3 separate regions of the Homo sapiens genome follow, and all the other regions are linked to region 2. The links are contacts of gene promoters, found by promoter capture Hi-C in blood cells and fetal thymus (Javierre and others, 2016). All regions are on one chromosome and are shown on one strand. Each heading gives the region's core, a stretch centred on a gene start or on the middle of the fragment in contact. The rest is flanking DNA. Distances are from core to core; before and after follow the strand shown.

Region 1 (2,700 bases), core at 180-2,679, 5.0 Mb after region 2:
GACTCAAGAACGCCTTTAGGAGGTGGAACTCACAGGCCTAGACGGCATTGGTAGGGGTAAGGAATACTGCATTAGCCTCCTAACTGCTTTCTCTACTTCCATTCCTTGCCCCTCTGCAACCCATTCTCCACTCCGCAGCCATTTTTAAAAAGATGCCCCTCCCTACTTATGACTCTAAAATTGCTCTTCTCACTCTTCCCCTCAGGATATATTTCCAATTAAATATACCTAAGTGACTGCCCACCTCTGCAACCCAATGTCACATTCGAGTCTTACTGAACTACTTGACTGCATTTCCCGAGATCTCACCTCTTCTCGCCTGTACCCTGTGCGCGGAAAGTCAGCCCTCCACCTTCTCCCTGCTTCCACTCCCAAAATACTTCGTGGTTTTGCAGCTCTGGAGTATTTACCGTGTTGGCTGTTTAAATTTCTGCCTCCATCAGAAGGCAGAAACTGACTCGCGAACTATTCCATCCCCAGCCGATAGTAGACGCTTAAAAAAGAACGAAAGAAGGTGGGTGGAGGACTTCAGTAACATCAGGTGGCAGCCTCAATTTTATCGTTTGTGAAACGTGGATAGTAATCCCTCTATCACGTGGCTGTTGCAGGAATAAAGTGAAAAAACAAAACAGGCTAGCTTGTTCAATAAATGTGAGTTGAATTAAATCTGATTTGTGGTCAGTAGAAAAAGATGTGAATACTTGGAAAGGAAGACACATTTTTTTAAATATATGCCTGGTAAAACGGATCAGAAGGCAGGTCCCCATGGAGCACACCCTCGCCCTAAACATGCTGAACCCGGGCTGCCATAGCCTGCGTGGTCCCTCCAAGGTGACTGCTCCGACAAAAGGGTACGCTCTTCAAACGCATACGTTTAAGGCAATTCCAGAAACCCTCGGCTGTGCCGCGACTACACGGCCATTAAAGAAAAGACGACTCTATGCCCGCCGTAATGTTCTCAGATCACAGGGACCGTATTTGGAGCTGGGAGGGAGGGAAGCCTTTTCTTCACGGGGGGCTAAGGCGTCTTCGAGCCCCCTTCCAATCCCGGGTCCGGCCGGGTAATCCCTGCCCAGCGTTCGGGCGTGCCTTTTTTTCAGCCGAGACACAACCCTGAACGTGGGGCCCGCCAGCCCGGCGGCTGCCTCGTGGAAGTCACGTTCCTTCTGCCCGTCCTCTCGGGTACTCTATGGTTTTCGTGGCCGACTACTCTAATTCTAGTTCCGGTCTCTATGGCGGCCGGCGGAGGCAGGAACGGTTGTAGGTCGACTGAATTAGCCGCCAAAGGTCCAATGAGAATGGAGGACTGATAAAATATTAGCCAATAGAAGCTAGGGATTGGGGTCAGGTGGGCAGATTGACAGTACCACTGGCCAGTGAACAACGCCTAGGGCGGGTCGCTCGTAGGGCTTATCCCGCCTGTCCCGCCATTCTCGCTAGTTCGATCGGTAGCGGGAGCGGAGAGCGGACCCCAGAGAGCCCTGAGCAGCCCCACCGCCGCCGCCGGCCTAGTTACCATCACACCCCGGGAGGAGCCGCAGCTGCCGCAGCCGGCCCCAGTCACCATCACCGCAACCATGAGCAGCGAGGCCGAGACCCAGCAGCCGCCCGCCGCCCCCCCCGCCGCCCCCGCCCTCAGCGCCGCCGACACCAAGCCCGGCACTACGGGCAGCGGCGCAGGGAGCGGTGGCCCGGGCGGCCTCACATCGGCGGCGCCTGCCGGCGGGGACAAGAAGGTCATCGGTGAGGACCGGACAGGGACGGGGGTGGGGCCCTCGGGCAGCCCAGCAGCGGAACCGTTAGCCGGAGCTGGGCGAGCCGGCGGGCGCGCGGCCGGTGGGCACCGACTCCGCGGCGCGCGGCCGCCCATCCCCCCCGTCCCCCCCTCACTCCCTCTCGCGGGGACCCGCCCGGCAGGCGCGCGCGCACTGCCTCCCGCGCCCCCTGTGGACCCCGCGCGGCCGCGCGCCCCTCCCCCTGCGGCCGCGCGCCGCCGACCGCGTGTGCGACGGGGTCCCCTCCCCGCCGACCGGCCTCGTGCGCTCGGGCCCGCACGCCGTTGTTCGCGTCACCCCCACCCAGCTCCCTTCCGCGTGTGCTCGGAGGGCGCGGCGCACCGCCTACGCAGGCCGGAGCGGCTTCCCCTTCCCTCACGTGCTCTCCGTCCGCGGCCTGCGCACACACCCATCCTGGGGCCCGCGCCCCGGGCCTGCCCTGGAGCGCCCCGCGCTTCAGACTCACCCACGTGTGCGGCGGCGGCGGCGACTGCGTGGCCCCGCACCCGGGCGGTGGAGAGAAAGGGCTGTCAGGTGGCCGCGGCGGCCGGCGTGCGAGGGACCGGATGCCCAAGCCGGGCGGATTTGGAAAAGGATAGCTGGTAATCGTGGCTTGTTTTGCTTTGTTTTCTTTTCCAGCAACGAAGGTTTTGGGAACAGTAAAATGGTTCAATGTAAGGAACGGATATGGTTTCATCAACAGGTGAGCTGCCGGGCTCTGAAGCCTCCATCCCACCTTCTTGCTTGCTTCCTGCTCTGTCGGCTTCTCGGGGCTTGGGAAGCCCCAATCCACAGCTCTGTTCTGAAAGGCGTTTACTACCTCTGGTGTATTAGTATGATTTTTTGTTGTTGTTGTTTTCCTTGATTAGGGATTAGTGGATCTAGAGAATGCCTTTGTTTTGCAGCTAAATATTAATTTGAAGCT
Region 2 (2,700 bases), core at 64-2,563:
GGACTTTCCAGGAAGGTCCAGGCTTGCCAGGACTTCTATGCTTGGACTGCTCTGTCCCCAAGCTCGCTGGTGCCCATCAGGAGCCTGCTTGGCACCTTTGCTTATTTCTTCGATTGTTCCTCAACTCAGAGGGGGAGAGGCAAGATTATCACTCCCATAGCCTATAACATGCACGCTTAAACACAACCCCTCTGACATGGCTTCAGACCGCATCCACAGGTGAAAAGCACCAAATCCAAACAATCAGGCCACAAACCCGTCAAGAGCTCGCCGGTCTGGCCGTCCAGTCGCCGCCCGCCTTGAGACTCAGCCTGAGCTACAGCTTCGAAACTAGCCTCTAGCCTTCTGGGTCTCAGCACAACTCTTGAGCAATCCAACCCTGTGGCCGTGGGCAGATACCAAGATGCACAGTTAGCACCTCCGACAGGACCGCGGCTCGGCGGGGCTCGCCGTCTACACGCCCATTCCCAGGCCCACGGCCACGACACCCAGAGCTGCCTCCTGCCCTGGGCTCCCTGGAGCCTGGTGGCCGCGGCTCATGCTGCAGTCACCGTGTGGCCAGCTGCCAAGCGCCACTACTTGCACCTGAAGTCGCAGCCCCGCGCTGCGCACCCAGTCGAGGCGCCAACACGCGAACTGGGCGGGAGTGGCCGGCCCGCGGGGGAGCGAGGAACGACAGGGTTCCCCCCACTCGCTGCCCAGACTGGCCGCGGGATAGCGCGCCCCCCCCAAAGCCTGCACCCCTGCCCTGCTCCTCTATCATTCCGTCCCCCTTGCTCTGTCAAACCCTGCCGGGGCTGCTCTGTCTCTGCCGACCCGCCACTTGCCCGAAGTTCGGCCTGAGGAGCTTGGGGCCCTGAGGAGCGCCGACGTAGGCAGCCAGCCAGTCAATCAGTCAGAGGGTCACGGCGGCCCCTCGGCTACTCAGTGGCAGCCAGGCCAGAAAGAAGCAGCCGCCAACCCTGGAGCAGAATCCTACAGCCGACCTGACCTAGTAGGCCCCCAGCCCTCCAGAGCTTGGGGTATTGCAGAGCCGCCACAAGGCCTGCCGGGAGTAGTAGTTTGTATAGTTCGCAGCCGGCCAGGGCGGAGCCGGGTGGGTTGGTGGGGAGGGCGGGGAAACAAGCCTGGACCACAACTCCCAGGAGTACCCGCGACGGCGGCGGCCTCGCTGTCGCACTCAGGCTATAGGGGGCGCATTGGGCGGAAGACCCTGGGCCGGCAGGAACTTGCTTGTGATTGGATGTTGTGGGACGGCGGCTTCTCATTCGTCAGCCTGTGACTGTGGAGTTTGAATTGGGTGGCGGTTGACTGTAGAGCCGCTCTCTCTCACTGGCACAGCGAGGTTTTGCTCAGCCCTTGTCTCGGGACCGCAGGTACGTGCCTGGCGACTTCTTCGGGTGGTCCCCGTCCGCCCTCCTCGTCCCTACCCAGTTTCTTGCTTCCCTGCCCCATCTCCGCCGCTCCCCGCAGCCTCCGCCGAGCGCCATGGCTCCTAGGAAGGGCAGTAGTCGGGTGGCCAAGACCAACTCCTTACGGAGGCGGAAGCTCGCCTCCTTTCTGAAAGACTTCGACCGTGAAGGTAAGGGGCCAGGCCGTCGCGGCCTCCTGGGGCGGTCGCGGGATGCTGGCGGGTGGGGACACGAGCTGCACAGATTCGCCCGCCCGTGACCCGTGTCCTGTCGGCTCTGCCCTCCCGCAGTGGAAATACGAATCAAGCAAATTGAGTCAGACAGGCAGAACCTCCTCAAGGAGGTGGATAACCTCTACAACATCGAGATCCTGCGGCTCCCCAAGGCTCTGCGCGAGATGAACTGGCTTGACTACTTCGGTAAGAGCTGGAGAGCTTCCCTGGGCGGAGGCCAGGAGCCCCTTGGGGTTAGGTGACACCCTTCAGAAAGGGCTCGCTCAGATGTCACCTTTTAATGAGATCTGACATGACCACTTATGGAAAATTGCAGACCCTTTCACTCTCTGTCTCACTTCCCTACTTCATTTTTCTCTATGAAAAATGGGGGGGTGGTTGGGGGGCGGCGGGCGGGGCGGTCTCTGTCGGACAACTCAGCTCTGCTGTTTACAGGTCCAAAACAGCTGTAGTGAATGGGCATGGATGGGCTGTATTCCAATAAAATTTTAGTTATGGATACACTGAAATGTGAATTTCACATAATTTTCACACATCAGGAAATTTATTTAATTTTTTTTAAACAGAGTCTCACTCTGTCACCCAGGCTGGAGTGCAGTGCAGTGCAGTGGTGCGATCCCTGCTCACTGCAACCTCCACCTTCTGGGTTCAAGTGATTCTCCTGCCTCAGCCTCTGGAGTGGCTGGGATTACGGTCGCCTGCCACCATGCCCCGCTGATTTTTGTATTTTCAGTAGAGACGGGGTTTCACCATGTTGGCCAGGCTGGTCTCGAACTCCTGACCTCAAGTGATCCACCTACATAGGCCTCCCAAAGTGCTGGGATTACAGGAGTCAGCCACTGCGCCCGGCCAGAAAATAGTATTTTTAAAAATATATGTATATTTTACCCATTTAAAAATGAATGAATAAATGACATGGTTAGTTAACCAGAGCTCAGATAGAAGAATAACCCGAAGCAGCTCCTTCTGCAGCTTATGGAAATTGCTAACCTAAAAATGGGCGCATCAGGCTGGGCGTGGTGGCTCACGCCTGTAATCCCAGCACTTTGGGAGGC
Region 3 (2,700 bases), core at 121-2,620, 4.2 Mb before region 2:
AGGGCAACTGCTGAGTAAGATCAGGCTGTAAGCTGCAGCCTAGCTAGGCAGCCACAGGGGCTACATAACTTGTCCAAAGTAACACAGCTGATTAGTGGCAGGAGTGGAACTAGAACCCCAGTCTGCTCACTCCTGCCTTAATGTTCTTTCCATTCTCCCGTACTGTCATCTTAAGAGTTTGGATGACTAGCACACATAGAGGAGGCTATAAGACATGGTTAAGAAAAATGATTGGAGAAAAGGGATCTCGGCTTAGACCCTAACTCTACCACTTGCTAGTTGTGTAACCTTAAGTGAATCTTCATAAACACTCAGTTTCCCTTTAGGTAATTGAGGATATAGTGCAGTCATACCTTATCAGATAATAATATTCTAAGGGTGAAAATCACTTTAGCCAAAAATCACAGTTAGTTTGAAAATCCTTTGGCAAGGAGCCGTTTCAGAAACTAACACGCTGCCTTTCAATAAATAAACTAATCAGCACAGCTGGGCTTTCTTGTTTGAACATTAGATGAGAATTCGCTTGTATTAGGGACTGTGCGGTATGAAAGACACTTTACTCACACTTAGTGGAAAGAGAGGCACGAGGGAATCAAGACCAACCTGGTGAATAGCGAAGTCCTAGGTGCCACCACCACATGCTTATTCTCGAACAGATAGTGAACGCAACTGGCTGCACTATTTAAATCATGCTCTTTCTCTCTTTCTTTTTTTTTTCTTCTTTTTCTGAGACAGAGTCGTGCTCTGTTGCCCAGGCTGGAGTGCAGTGGCACGATCTCAGCTCACTGCAACCTCCGCCTCCTGGGTTTAAGCAATTCTCCTGCCTCAGCCTCCCGAGTAGCTGGGATTACAGGTACGAGCCACCACGCTTGGCTATTTTTTTTTTTTTTTTGTATTTTTAGTAGAGACAGGGTTTCACCATGTTGGCCAGGCTGGTCTCGAACTCCTGACCTTGTGATCTCCCTGCCTCGGCCTCCCAAAGTGCTGGGATTACAGGCGTGAGCCACCGCGCCCGGCCCTCTTTCTCTCTTTCTGATCTTTGCAGTGGAAGTTACAGATCAGTGAAATGCAGCTCAACACCTAATGAGACTCCAGTTGCTGCCTGGAGGCTTCAGTGAGATTATGAATGTGGAACACAGCACTGTGCCTGGCACCTTGTGGGCACTCAGTAAAGGGGTACTCTTAGAAATTGCTGGTCCTAATGAGGCTCGATATTCCTGGTCATCTCGGAACTGAGGAATGCCCCGGTCCATTTTCCCTTGTTCACTTCTGTGTGAAGTCACCCGGCTGTTGGCCGACTCTGTTGGCCTCCCTCTCCCCACAATAGCCTGCTATCCATACTTCGGTCTAACTTCCTTAGAAAGTTACGGTTATGGTTCCTTAGAAAAAAAAGGTTATGGTGATATGTGGTCCCTGGGGCTTTCCGATTTCTATTTGAAACAAACCTTTGGGACTTTCAAGTCTTTCCAGGAGAAAATACCTATTATCTGAGACTCTGAGCTTTGGGCCTGGTGTGACTGCTAATTGCCTATTTTGTTGTAGTGTCCTGTTTGTGCAGGAACGCAAATGTCTTTGCTTGCTTATTGACTGTCTGTCTCACTAGACTGTAATTTTATTGAAGGTAGGGACTGTCAGTCCCAGCTACTGGTAGATCTGTAGCTTCCAAACAGGGTATAGCTGGTACTCTATAAATGATTGATGAATTGCTCCTTGTGTGAGAGGGTGACAGAAATGTGTTTGAACTCATGCATCAATAAGGTTGTGGTTCAAAAAGAAATTTCATGAAAGGCGAATTCTTTAGGTTCAAAAAGAAATTTCATGAAAGGCAAAATCTTTCTACATATGTGATCTCTCTGAGTGCTTATAGCAGTAATGTAGGTAGACAGAAATAGTTTAGTTTAATATAAATTATGGAATATCTGTATCCCATTAGGCTTTTGATACGCCAGGTTTATCATTTTAATACATGGTAATAAAACTTTTTAATGGCCCTGCTATTTATCAGATACTGGGTTGAGCACTGTGGATACAGAAATTAGTAACATACAATACTGATTCTAGTAATATAGTATAATGTGGGTGTCAGATATAGTAACAGGTAACTACAATAGTGTAGGATAATACCTATATTAGAGGTATGTACCAATTGCTTTGGTGATATAGGATCAGGGAGGCAATTCTTGGAGGGCAGGACATGAAAAGGGCATGTCAAGGAACTCCTATCAAAGGAGGTGACATTTGAGCTGGTGGTTGAAGGATGAGTAGGAAGCTGCCAGGTAGCCATGAGTTGTGCTTTAAGCCTCTTCCTAAGCATATGGAGGCCTTTAGGGCAAGACTTTAATTTTTATTACCCTTGTCTTGTTTCTCTTCAGTCCAGTCAGATTGCCCAAAATGAAAAATACCACCATCTCTCCATTCTCAATTCAGTTGTGTCATTCCCACTTGGAAGCAGCTAATGATCTCCTTTGAGTGGGCATTTTTTATGTCACCCAGACTTGTTGGGATGACACAGAGAGCTCATTTTTTCAAATAACCCAGCATGGGTGCCATCAGAGAGGCTGTAATCTCCTCTGGGACACACATAGATACGCACATCCTTCTCATACAATGTCTCATACAGTGTAGAAAGTGGTAAGTGTCACAGAGACATGGAAATAAAAGAGAAAGGAATTCCTTTTGGCATGAGCGCGAAGGTCATTT

Evidence for each region. Contacts are between HindIII fragments. The CHiCAGO score rates a contact against its expected background, and 5 or more counts as called.
Region 1: the fragment with the promoter of YBX1 here is called in contact with the fragment with the promoter of CDCA8 in region 2 in 1 of 17 cell types (non-activated CD4 T cells); the score reaches 6.4 in non-activated CD4 T cells.
Region 3: a fragment that was not itself captured here is called in contact with the fragment with the promoter of CDCA8 in region 2 in 1 of 17 cell types (non-activated CD4 T cells); the score reaches 5.4 in non-activated CD4 T cells.

Annotation. Positions count from the first base shown.
Region 1 is chr1:42,680,989-42,683,688 of GRCh38, forward strand. YBX1 (Y-box binding protein 1) reads left to right here and starts at 1,430. Exons shown (of 8, transcript NM_004559.5): 1 at 1,430-1,743; 2 at 2,415-2,478. The coding sequence starts at 1,578. It also overlaps a transcript of PPIH not described here. RefSeq lists an enhancer at 1,086-1,135 and silencers at 1,576-1,775, 1,966-2,075, 2,186-2,335. The HindIII fragment of the contact is 3,657 bases long and covers 1-2,700 here.
Region 2 is chr1:37,691,203-37,693,902 of GRCh38, forward strand. It overlaps CDCA8 (cell division cycle associated 8), which reads left to right and starts at 1,314. Exons shown (of 10, transcript NM_001256875.2): 1 at 1,314-1,582; 2 at 1,703-1,831. The coding sequence starts at 1,489. It also overlaps a transcript of AIRIM not described here. RefSeq lists enhancers at 55-565, 566-1,075, 848-1,037, 1,076-1,586, 1,587-2,095 and silencers at 368-427, 448-617. The HindIII fragment of the contact is 4,527 bases long and covers 1-2,700 here.
Region 3 is chr1:33,474,950-33,477,649 of GRCh38, forward strand. All of the region lies in intron 1 of ZSCAN20 (zinc finger and SCAN domain containing 20), which reads left to right. Among named protein-coding and RNA genes, the nearest start is that of ZSCAN20, 3.7 kb to the left of the region's middle. The HindIII fragment of the contact is 4,752 bases long and covers 1-2,700 here.